4 separate regions of the Homo sapiens genome follow, and all the other regions are linked to region 1. Evidence: promoter capture Hi-C in 16 types of primary human blood cells and fetal thymus (Javierre and others, 2016). All regions are on one chromosome and are shown on one strand. Each heading gives the region's core, a stretch centred on a gene start or on the middle of the fragment in contact. The rest is flanking DNA. Distances are from core to core; before and after follow the strand shown. Region 1 holds the start of MAT2B (methionine adenosyltransferase 2 non-catalytic beta subunit). Region 2 holds the start of GIN1 (gypsy retrotransposon integrase 1). Region 3 overlaps CEP120 (centrosomal protein 120). Region 4 holds the start of PFDN1 (prefoldin subunit 1).

Region 1 (2,910 bases), core at 253-2,752:
AGAAAGGTAAGATTACATCACGTGTTGCGACTAGAAACTTTAAACCGAATTCCCAGTTAAGAGAAAAAGTAGTAAGATGATCTTGGCTGCTCCCCCGGCCCTCTTCCCGCCCTCTTCTTTGTTGTCCCCTGATTATGCTTGTTTAGCGCTGGGGCAGTCCTCAAGGATTCCCTAAATAAAGCCAAACTAATGAACAGTAATAGCCTGTGTTTAAAAAAAAAAAAAATCGGAACATAAGAAACCTCAGGCTGTCTTCGATTACTGTTCTAGAGAAACTTTATGTTTACACGAATAAGGAAATGAGTTTTTGTTGGGGGTTGAGGAGGAAGGAAAGTCATGGTGTTCTGACGTGGAAAACTTCTTTAAAAGGCTGCTTAGTCTTTAGTTTGAAAATAAACCAAAAAGGTTTAGGAGTCGGGGAAAGGCCCTAGGAAAATCCAGACAGTGGTCACGTTTGTGGACGACGTTTAGAGCTTGCTATCCTGGGCACACAAGAACCCTTGGACTGTTCGGTGCAAAGTTGGCAAATCCTACACGGCCTGTGCCAGGGTTTACTTTCTGCATCAATTTCACAGGCGTCCAGCCTGGCTGAGGATTTTTTGCGGTTTTTAACTGGAAGGGAAATAAGTCGGCATCAGCACTTAGGGCTGCTTAACTTTTAAAAGGTGGTAGAACGCCCAGCCTTACACGCTGCTGCTTAAATTCTCGGTGCTCACCAAGGCTGGGCTCGTGTGGCCCAATCCTGCAATCCCCGAGGCGGTGTTTCTTAAAGAGTGGGCTTGATTCTGGTTAAACCCATTAAGAAGTCGGACCCCGGGCTCGTTTCTTGTTCTGTAATTATGGGTAAAGTCCAAGGATCTGCGTTTTGAAGAGGTACCTAAGTAGTTCATCTTCCTTCCCCCTACAACTTTTTATTTTTAATTAGTTAAAAATAGTTTTACATTTTTGATATCTCACACACAGGTTTTTTCTTTTTTTAAGCATCCCAGGAAGACAAATGGCTCAGACGCCAACCCTTTTATTTTTATTCCTTGTCTTTTTCTAAATCTTTCAAAACCCCCACCTAGAGCTCTAGAGATGTGTCCATTATGCTCTACCCACCTCCGCCCCCGCCCCCATGACTTTAAAATGCTTTTTATTCCACTTTTTATATTGCTCAGTCGATCCTCATGCACTGCGCAGTCTGCAAACTTGAAACTCAAGGCGATCCACTTCAATCTTTTCCCGAGTCAAGAAAAAAAGGAAAAAAAGTAGAATAAAAAGCACTCAAATAAAATCTCCGAAACAAAACCTGAATTCACTGCCTAAGGTCAGGGCCTTTCTTTTGTGTGTCGCTTTAAGCATCGGCGCGTGGGCTGGGGGCAGACCGCGCGTACCCGCCCTCTTTCTGGGGCGTCGGCGGAGCGTGGCCAATCAACGGGCGCGGCTATGGCAGCGGAAGCCGGAAGCGGCGAGCGGGGTCGTTCTGGGCCTAGGGGAGGCGGGCCGAGGGCGTCTGAGCTGAGGCCCGCGTCGATCCTGGGTTGGAGGAGGTGGCGGCCGCTGAGGCTGCGGCGTGAAGACGGCGGGCATGGTGGGGCGGGAGAAAGAGCTCTCTATACACTTTGTTCCCGGGAGCTGTCGGCTGGTGGAGGTGAGGGAGTCGGCCTGGGCGTCTCCGGTGGGAGCGGGGGCGCCGAGGGGGACGAGCCACCGGGGCTCGGGCGGCTTTGCAGGCGTATTCCGCCCGGGTCAGAGCCTCCGGCCGGGAGTGGTCTCACCGCCACCCTCCCAGCCCCGGATCCGAGGGGGGCGCCACCGAGTTTGTTTATCTCAGCGCACACGGGTCAGTGTTTTTTTCTTCCAGCCACTGCGGCAGGAAGCAAGTAGGTGGAGGTTTTACTTTCGAGTTCTGTCTCTGCTCCTGAGGACGAAGAGGTTTTTCAGAATTGTTTGTTTTGATTTTGGTTTTCCCCGTTTATTCATCTTTGGTTCGTATTTCTCGATCTTACAAGTTCGTAGGTTTGAGAAAGAACAGGAAAAGGTGACTTCTCACAAATAACAGTGCTGGAGATGACAACTTATTGAACTCTTAAGTTCTCAGCACTATGTTATGCACTTGACGGGCATTACTTTAATCCTCCACTGTGAGATACTTGTTATTGCCTCATTTTGTAGACGAGAAAACGGGCATAGAGGGTGAGACATTGGCCCAGGTTCATTCCGTAAGGTTGGAGCCTGGAATTCAGATACAGGTTTGTGTGACTGTCTTGGGCTTTGAACCACTACGGAGTTTCCCTGAAGGAAGATTATGGTGATGATTGGAAGATCCATCTCTGGTGCCCCCCTCGCCCCCGTCCCATCCTGCTCCATTCCACTTAAGGGCCTCCAGCATTAATCTGTCCACAGAACATATCCAACCCTGGGGATAAGAACACTACTAATGCCCAGACCATGTCTTTTGGAGAGAGTAGAGAATATAGGAGATGGCTGTTTCTGTTATTGCAAAGTTTTCATGCTTCCAAATTTACTTAGGGTTTTCAAATCACTTTGGTTCTTTGAGGGTAAAGTTAGGATAAATGGTCTATTAAACCTCTATGTTCCTAGGTCCTCCAGACCGTGCTGAGTGCATGTTACATACGTTTACATTTATATGTATGCATTTGTATGTGTACGTGTGCATATAAAGCTTAATCTACTTTCACAAAAAGAAGTTCAGTATAAAAATGAAAATAGCTTTTCGTGTTTTCCTTCATTAAAAATGAAACAACGAAGAGCTTGGCACAGACTTACTGCTCTCAAAACCTGTAGAATTAAAGCTTACTGACTCATGAGAACGAGAACTGTCTCATAGTTAACGTTAGAGAAGCATCCTGGAGTGGTTGTTGTTAGTAATACTGTCTGTGGAGCACAGTAGCGTCGCAGTAGAAG
Region 2 (2,910 bases), core at 144-2,643, about 60 Mb before region 1:
AGTTGTTTTTTTTTTTTCAAAGCCCATACATATGAGAAAATGGCTTGAAACTGTAATATTCGAGACAAATATAAATATCTTCTTATACTCTGATTGCTAAGTAAAGGTATCATTTACAAGGGGGATTAAGTGGTTTCTACTACATAAAGAAAGACTGTCCTGGGACTTCTTTGGATATGCTCATATTTTCAAGAATTTCTCTTAAAATCATTACTTAATGTACTTAAACATGTAGGAATAAGAAAAAATGAAAGTGATTGATTACAACTTGTAGTTTTGCAAGAGGAATGTCAGGGTCACATTTGGTTAAGCTTTATACACTTTGTCCCCTCCATAAAAGCAAATAAAATCAACTCATTGCTTAATTCCTTTAATAATTTTGTGTTCAATAAAGTAAGGCAGTTAGGTATTATGTCAAGATTAGGACTTAACTGTTTCACCAAGGGTTAAAAACAAAGCCACCAATTTAAGCCCCTAAAAGGTTATAATACCCGCTGGTTCCATCTTAAAATCTGCAATTTTCAATCAACATGTTAACTTGGATCGGAATTCTGACATTTGAATTATTCTATTTTAAGCTCCAAAAAATGGACACGCACAATTTTATGCAACGTCAAGGACCTGTAAATTTAAATACACTTCTCTGTAATCTGGTTCACTTCAGAGTACAAATTCATTGAACAAAAAAATGCCTTCATCGCCATATGCATTCACATGAAGCCACATGGGATAAATGCATTTCCACTTTAAAAAGTATCTACTTTGGTTCAGAAATGCCCATTTAAGAAAAACCTACACTGAGATAAAGTGGACATTTTTCTTTTAAAACTACGTGACAGGATTCCCTCTTGACCTCACGTTTCTCCCCGCCACGTATTTAAATTTGGGGCAAAATTTCTGATTAAATGACTGATCAAAGTAATGGGGAGAATTCTTCAACGCCGGCCAAAAGTGCTTAGTCTCAAACGCTGTGAGGGAGCATTTCCTAAGCTTTGGGCGACTCGTTAACGGAATCTTAAGGGCAAGGTCCAACCACACTCAGAATCAGCAGGAAAATGACCGTTTGGTAAAACTCAATTACACCCAGTAGGCACCTCCCCAGGCCCGAAACAGCACTCGCCCTTTCTGCTCAGCTAGCGCGGGACATCGCAACGCCCAAGGCCCTCCTATCTCAAAGGCGCTTGCGCAAAATCTCCCCACAGACTCAATTAAACCCTTCCTTAGGCCGGTCGAGGCGAATGGTTTTGAAATTACTGTCGGGTTACGCCTCACTTTAAAAAACAGTAGGTATGACACAGCACACCAGAACGACCACTCACCGAGGTGGTCCTAAATTCAAACGACAGATTTAAGCTTCCTCTCGTGATTTATCTCGCGCTGCCGGAAGCGGAACTACCCGGGTCCTTTAGAGGGCAGTCCTTTGGGGAACCTTGGAACCACGGTCAGAAAGGTTAGGACTGATCATTTGGCTCTTGCCGGAAATCGTTCCGCCCGGTGAGGTTTCGGCGTGAGACCCGAGGAGGGCGGGGAAGAGGCGTGACGGAGATTCCTGAGGTGTAGTAGCCTGAGGTTCCCTTATGTGGCCCTATAGCTGTTACTGAAGGAAGTAGCCTACGTCCACGCCTACAACTGAAGTCTCTTGACAAACACCTCACCCCTGCCTCCGGGATGAAAGGGGGTAACCTAGACCTGAATGGGCTTGACCATCTCACAACTGCTCGCGTGACGACCGCATTCGTGGCAGGTGAGGGCCCAAAACCGGAGGAGAACCGGAGATGCGGAACCTGATCATGCCAGGGTTGAGGCGGCTGCTGGGCTTCTGCTTTGTCTCCTGTGCTCTGCAGACCCTAAACACATGCTCCACCGAGGGGCTTGTGCTGGAGAGAATGACAGCCTGGGCGTGGAGTGACAGTACAGCTTTGAGGGTCCTTTCGCGCCTTGATTTCTCCTCCTGCTCCCCCATGGCTTCCCTTTTTCATTTCTTGGGTTCGAGACGCCAGAAATTGAAGATCAGCTAAAAGGGAACCGCTGAGCTTCTACCCCACGCTGTGCCTGGCTCCACTGAAGTGATTAGCCTCGAGTTATGGGACTGCTGTGGGTAGAGGTGGCTTTTTAAAAAATTTTCTGCCTTAGTCTTTATCCCTCTCTCTGTCAACCCCACACCCACTTTAAAATAACAAAAGCCTCATGTGTTGCAGCTTTTCATAGTAGGGACCGAGGCTGCAGGGCACTGCCGCACCTAGTCATTTGGAGGTCGTTGCAGCCTTCTGCGCCTTGAAGAAGAAGGGGCCAGGGTGATGATCCCTGGATCTCATTCACGAGGTTCTTGACCACTTCCTGGGAGATTGCGACTCTTGGTGTCCTTTGGCTAGTAGTTGTCTTGCTGGAAGGCTTAACTGTGGAAGTGGGAAGCATAGCTGACCTTAGCACGTAAAATCCTCGCTCTACACTGGGACAGGATTTTGTTTTGCTATTGAGAATTCTTAAATGAAATAGATAATTTTTTTGTCTCAGATAGATAAAATAATAACGATAGTTGCCATTAACTGAGTCTTATGTGTGCCGAGTGCTTTACATAGTTTGTCATTTATTCCTCTCAACAATTCCAGGAGGTATGTTAGATTATTATCACCATTTTACAGAGTTAGAAATGGAGGCTTTGAACAGTCAAGCAACTTGCTCTATTAAACATTTGTTATAAGTAAACGTTTGAATCTGTGTTAAAAACCAGATCTGTCTGCCTTCAAAATCTGTATTCTATTGTCCTGTCCTGTTCTTCCTCGATTTCAATTTCTTCACTAACATTTTCAGTGTCTGAAAGTATCCATTCATTTAAAAAATTTTGGTGTACCTACTTATATGTCTGACAAAAGTTAGACATGATCTCTGTCTTTATGGAGCATTGTGATG
Region 3 (2,910 bases), core at 265-2,764, about 40 Mb before region 1:
ATTAGCATTAACAGAGGCCCATCTCAGGACCTCATTTTCTGCTGCTCCAAAAGATACCTAGCTTCCCCAAATGAATGTCATATATGTCAAAGAACCTATATTTTCCATATTATTATAACTAGCAGCTTCCAACAAGCTTGAGAACAGAGGATGTGAAGGGAACAAACAGATGCCTGCCTTGCTGCAGACAATGATACAGAGATAACAGAAATGGTCTTTTTCATCCTTGGAATCTAGTACATAGCCCAAATTTTGTTCATGGTAAAAGCTTAACCATTTTCTTTTAAATAAAGGGCATTTCTAAAAGTGTAGTCAAGAAATTGCAAGTTAACTCTTAAGGACTGTAGTCCCCCGAGTCCTCCACCAAGCCAAAGGGATGAGAATACATGAGGGGAAATGAGACTGAAAAGGTAGGCAAGAGGTCTACCACAAAGGGCCATGTATGCCATTCTAAGAAATACAGACATTATCCTTTAGGACACTGAAGGACTTTAAGAAAATCAGATTTGCATTTCAGAAAGATCATCCCCAGGGAGTAAAGGAGGAAGTCTAGATGTTTCTGGAAAGGAAGAAAACATTGAAGAATCAGACTACTGAAAAGATTATTACAGTAAGTTAGGTGGATAATGAGGGCCCCTTACCAAGGCACTCACAATGTAAACTCATTCATTCAAAAACTCGTATGTAGAATCTATTATTATTCAGAAAATAAAATCAATTATACTTGATGACCATTTGGAAGTTAGAAATGGAGAGTGAATCCAGGCTGAGGATGACTCCTTGGTTCTTGGCTTAAGGCAACAGCATGGTTATGATGAATGGAAATACAGTACGAACAAGAGAGAAGAATAGTTTGGAGGGAGGACCACATGCTAGTTTTGGGTATGTTTGTGGAAACAACCTAACAGACATCCTTGACTCCAGGTTCTCTTCCTTGCACACTGCTACTAAACTGAACTCAAGAAAAGCATTCTATTTAGGAATATATGCTGCCAACCTATTTCTTGGAACATTAATTCTAAACTGGCTTTCAAGATCCTCTGAGGCCTATTCGCTCCAGTTGTACAAGCTCATTTCTTACCATGACATTTCTAAATATTCACCTTCCTCTACCCTGGTCATCTTGCTGATCTTTTCAATGTTCCACCCACCATGCTCACCCCGGCACAAGCTACTTGGTTGGGAATCAAGCTGGTCAGAAAGACCTTGACTGCTAACCTTTTGAGTTTAAGCCTGAGGCTCTCACTTGAAACTCTGTATTAGGAATATTAACACACATCGCACAGCTCTCCCAATTAGCACTAACAGGCCTCTCTCAGGACCTCATTTTCTGCTGCTCTAAAACTAGCTTCCCCAAATGAATTGCATTTATGTCCTGGGTTGTCAGACTGGCCTGGGTTGTCCATAGAATTCTATTGTCACATATCTAAAGCTCACTTATTATTTAAAGAACTTCAGCCATCCCACCCACCCTACCCTCAAACCTATATTTACAGTACATATCACATATTTTAAATATTATACCCCAACATATTGTGTCCTGTGATCTCCCCACGTGGACAGACCTCTACATCCTTGGAGGGAATGGAGGTATTTGTTTCCTCATAGCATGGTCAGTTATAAGTCTAAAAACTGTTGTTAACCAAATTTTAAGGTTATTTCAGTCCTATGTTTTTAAACAATAAGTAAACTAACAGTTAATAGTGCTCCAAATCTTTATGGCTTTTCTGGTCAGTCTCTTGTTCCAAAATTCAAAGATTAGGATTACAATGTTTCCTTTGCTCTCATCCCTCACACAGTGCCAGGCCTTTATAAAACACTCTCCCATGGGGGAAAAAATGCAGCCAGGCTTCTGCTCTGGCTCAAGATGACTCCTTCTTAACATACTATTCGTAAAGTGTCCTCAATTCACCTGTTATCTCCTATGCCCTCCACTTTCTTGCAAATCTGTTCTCCAACCACACTGAATTTAACCAATGTTTACTGAGTGAATTTAATTAAGCAAGGCAAAACGTGTCTTGCTTTTCCATACTTTAAGTGCTCCCTGCTCTTCTCTTTGCCTGGAATGCCCTTCCTTTTTTCACCTGACAAATTCCTAATCATCTGTAGGACCCCAAAAAATGCCACCTCCTCTAGTGAAACTTCCGCAGTTTCCTTAGACAGAGGTGGTCATTCATTAGGGTCTTCCACATCCTGATGAATTATTTGCTGACACACTCTCCTTGCTACATCCTTAGCTTTTTAGAATCAGGACTGTTTCATTCTTACATTCCCAGCACAGTGTCTGACACTCAATGAGTCCCAATAAACCAATGTCATTCATCCAAAACACACCTTTTAAGGAATGTATAATACACCCTCTTAAGAACTGTAGTCCCCTGAGTCCTCCAGCAAGACGTGTAAAGGGAATTGCCTCCGGAACACTTCTGGAATCGCAGGAAGCCTGTATTCAAGTCAAAGCTCTTACAAGTGCTATTATTGGGAACCGCTGATCAGAACGCGCTTCTCAGGACCACGTTCAGCTCATATATAAAAGCCATCGACGTGCTGCTTTGGATGAAAATCGTTTTCTCTAGATTCTCTGGGGCTACGGCTAGTCACGCTAAATATCACTTATCCCTAATAGCGCTCATATCCCTGGAGAGATTTTTAAATCAATTGCCTAACAGACCTCACTACGTACAACTTTGAACAAGTCTGTGGGGACCACAAAAGCACAGATGACAGGGTTCTTAAGGTTAACAAGGCCTCGGTCCCACACTAAGCTTTTAAAACTCGGGAGGCAGCAGTTGCAAAAGCAAGCCTCAGGCTGCTCACCTTCTAGGATGGACACGACGATGAGCAATTGGTCGGATTTGGAGACCATGGTTGCGGTGAGCGGTCCGGGGGCGAAGGCGGCTGGGGGGAAGT
Region 4 (2,910 bases), core at 178-2,677, about 23 Mb before region 1:
TTTAAGTTTGTAATCATTTTCTTAGTTTGCATTCACCGCCCGCAAGTTTCAAATGTAGCAATAAATTCAAAAGTACCGGGAGGCAAATCCATTCACTAAACCCTGATTTAAATCGGTACTTTTAACAGAAGAAAAGGTAAATTTTTAGAATGCACAATTTTGTTTTGAAATGTAAAATTCCAGGTATCATCTGACTGCTCTATACAGCTTGCTAAGGAAGCTAGTATACCATTAAAGATGAGCTAGTATACTGTTAAAGATTAGAGACTCCACCTAAGAGCTAAATTTACAAGATTCAAGACAAGAAGAACAAAAGCAAGACACAAACACATAATATCCTCACAACACTAACAAAAGCTTCATTTGTTAGAAGCAACAGCTATTTCGGCTGTCCTATTTCTTTTACACAAGTTGACCACAGGCAGTCTTAACTAAGATGTTGCTCATCTGAAGAACTCAAAATAGTGGTCAAAAAAGTGTGAGATAAGGCAGAGAATACTGGATTCTAGTCCCAACTTCTGACAGACTTTTCTGGCACTGGTTCCTTTTCCAGAAAAGTAGATTTAAAATAGATAAATTCTAGGGTCCTTTCCAATCCACCCCACCGCACAAAGCATACTGGTTTGGGGTCATTAGTGGTGTTAGAATGCTGATCATTCTTAGATAGCAAAAATCTGAATAACAACACATTTATAAGCAACTGAGGAAAACAGGAAACCCAATTCCTTCCGATACCGGTTTTATTTGGAAAACTTTACTGGTTTTGTTTTGTTTTTGACAATTCCTTCAAAAGAAGGAGGTTTTGTTTTGTTTTGTTTGACGAGTCCTTCAAAAGAAGTGGAGGGGGGGCAAAATCCTGAAATGAACATTGCTGCTACAATGCTTGGTTTTCCGAACTGTAGATATTGCAACTTTCAAGGTACAGAACCGAATAAATGGCCTAAAAACAAAGGTTGGACTTGGAGTTTTTCAAAGCAAATGAGGCAGAATTACGGATGCCACAGCTCAGGCAAGGGGTCCGAAGGGACCCCCATTTGAAATGCTCTCTTTAGTTCTTACTATGAAAGTGAGTCCCTGAAGCCTCCAAACGCAACGAAATGTCTCTGGAGCTCAGAAAGACTGGACAAGCCCGAGACAGGCCCGCAGACTTACCCGACCCAGACCAACCGGCTCCTACCCAGCAAGAGCCGCTCGCCCCCCACCCCGTTTATGGAGACCCAGTGAGGCCTTAGGACTCTGGGAAACCATTCCCTAGTCCACTGGACCCTCCTTCCTTCTGCAAGGCTCGTGCCTCACTTGATATTCTTGTCTATAGTCCCCTCAGCCTCCAAAAAGAAGACCTCCGCCTGCCAAAGACCCTCTTTTACCTTCTTCAGCTCTAGATCCACGGGGGCGGCCATCTTGGTGCACTGTAAGCGCCTGCGCAGTGGGAGTTGGACTGAAATAGGGTGGGGAAGGGCGCGTCTTACTTTGTGCGCCGGTCTTTCTTCTGCGCCTGCGCATGAGTTGGACTAACCGGGCTTCTTATCTTTCTCTGAGAATTGACTCCTGAAATATTTGGGTTTCGGATTCCGTGTCTTCACTACCTGACCGGTCAGGTCTGGCTTGCTCCTCCGTATCTTCCAGACATAGCCCAACGCGCAGATTTCCCATGTGGCTTTAAGCAGTTTGCCAGCTAGCTTAATATGTGCTGCTAAATTGAGATGTATGTAGATGAGGTCAAACCCTCATCAGTCGATCAGTCCTTCAGCTAGTCGCTGTGCTCTCAGGAATGAGTAAGAGTAAGTCCAGAACCTCAGGCATGACAGTTTGGGAAAGACTATTGGAAAGCTTGTCTGGAGTGTTCTTTCCAAAACGAACTTATTACTTCCAAAAGCTTCCCAAAGACATTCTAGGCACAGTGGTTCTCAAGAGAGGCTGAATACGTTTGTTTAAAAACAAAAAAATGCAGGTTCTCTGGGTCTCATCTCAAACGTACTCAGAATCTTTGAGAATGGGGTCTGGAAATTTGCACTTTTGCAGACTACCCCAGTGACCTAATGGTGCAACTCCTCCGCGGATCACTTTTTTGAGAATCTCTGCCATAAAAGGACCTGGCATTTGAACCAGAATAGATAATAATTGACTTTTGGAAATGGAAAAAAAAGTTAACCTACTCTAAAAACTGTTATGCTAAGAGAAAGTGCTACATAAATAATTAGGAAATTTATTTTATTTTTTAAAAAAAGAAAGAAAGAGAGAAAGAAAACAAACTGTTAGGGAGATGAAAGGGCAGGGAATTTGGAACCAGCCTAATCTAGATTCAAGGCTTGGTCTGCCTTTAGCCTATGTCTGGTTCCATTTACTAATTGTGTGACTTTAAGCAAGTCACTTGGATATTTTGTGGGGTTTTTTTTTTTTTTTGTACGTTTGTTTGTTTCTTGAGACAGGATCTTGCTCTGTCACCCAGGCTCGAGTGCAATGGTGCAATCACGACTCACTCCAGCCTCTACCTCCCGCGCTCAAGCGATCCTCCCACCTCAGCCTCGTGAGTAGCGCTGGGACTACAGGCGCGCGCCACCCACACTCAGCTAATTTTTATATTTTTGTACAGACGGGTTTTCACCTTGTTGCCCAAGCTGGTCTCAAACTCCTGAGCTCAAACAATCCGCTCGCCTTGGTCGCCCAAAGTGCTGTAGTGCTTTGATATTAAAGGCTTGAGCCACCGCACCCGGCCACATTTTTTTTTTTTTTTTTTTTTTGAGCCAGGGTCTCGCTCTGTCACCCAGGCTGGAATGCAGTGGCACGATCTCGGCTCACTGCAACCTCTGCCTCCCAGGATCAAGTGATTCTCCTGCCTCAGCCTCCCGAGTAGCTGGGATTACAGGCGCCTGCCACCACGCCCGGCTAATTTTTGTAGTTTTGGTAGAG

Evidence for each region. Contacts are between HindIII fragments. The CHiCAGO score rates a contact against its expected background, and 5 or more counts as called.
Region 2: the fragment with the promoter of GIN1 here is called in contact with the fragment with the promoter of MAT2B in region 1 in 1 of 17 cell types (total CD4 T cells); the score reaches 5.5 in total CD4 T cells.
Region 3: a fragment that was not itself captured here is called in contact with the fragment with the promoter of MAT2B in region 1 in 1 of 17 cell types (total CD4 T cells); the score reaches 8.0 in total CD4 T cells.
Region 4: a contact is called between the fragment with the promoter of PFDN1 here and the fragment with the promoter of MAT2B in region 1, in 1 of 17 cell types (fetal thymus). The highest score is 5.9, in fetal thymus.

What each region holds. Positions count from the first base shown.
Region 1 is chr5:163,504,117-163,507,026 of GRCh38, forward strand. It overlaps MAT2B (methionine adenosyltransferase 2 non-catalytic beta subunit), which reads left to right and starts at 1,503. Exons shown (of 7, transcript NM_013283.5): 1 at 1,503-1,633. The coding sequence starts at 1,571. RefSeq lists enhancers at 1,236-2,042, 1,260-1,349, 1,390-1,509 and a silencer at 1,680-1,819. The HindIII fragment of the contact is 7,455 bases long and covers 1-2,666 here.
Region 2 is chr5:103,118,745-103,121,654 of GRCh38, forward strand. It overlaps GIN1 (gypsy retrotransposon integrase 1), which reads right to left and starts at 1,394. Exons shown (of 8, transcript NM_017676.2): 1 at 1,320-1,394. PPIP5K2 (diphosphoinositol pentakisphosphate kinase 2) reads left to right here and starts at 1,557. Exons shown (of 31, transcript NM_001276277.3): 1 at 1,557-1,744. RefSeq lists enhancers at 530-1,031, 1,032-1,532, 1,368-1,627, 1,658-1,847, 1,898-1,957. The HindIII fragment of the contact is 9,897 bases long and covers 1,352-2,910 here.
Region 3 is chr5:123,420,133-123,423,042 of GRCh38, forward strand. CEP120 (centrosomal protein 120) reads right to left here. Exons shown (of 20, transcript NM_001375405.1): 1 at 2,818-2,910. The coding sequence starts at 2,866. Among named protein-coding and RNA genes, the nearest start is that of CEP120, 1.8 kb to the right of the region's middle. RefSeq lists an enhancer at 2,537-2,910 and a silencer at 2,812-2,910. The HindIII fragment of the contact is 2,497 bases long and covers 267-2,763 here.
Region 4 is chr5:140,301,674-140,304,583 of GRCh38, forward strand. PFDN1 (prefoldin subunit 1) reads right to left here and starts at 1,428. Exons shown (of 4, transcript NM_002622.5): 1 at 1,368-1,428. The coding sequence starts at 1,400. RefSeq lists an enhancer at 1,165-1,444 and a silencer at 1,333-1,537. The HindIII fragment of the contact is 1,473 bases long and covers 356-1,828 here.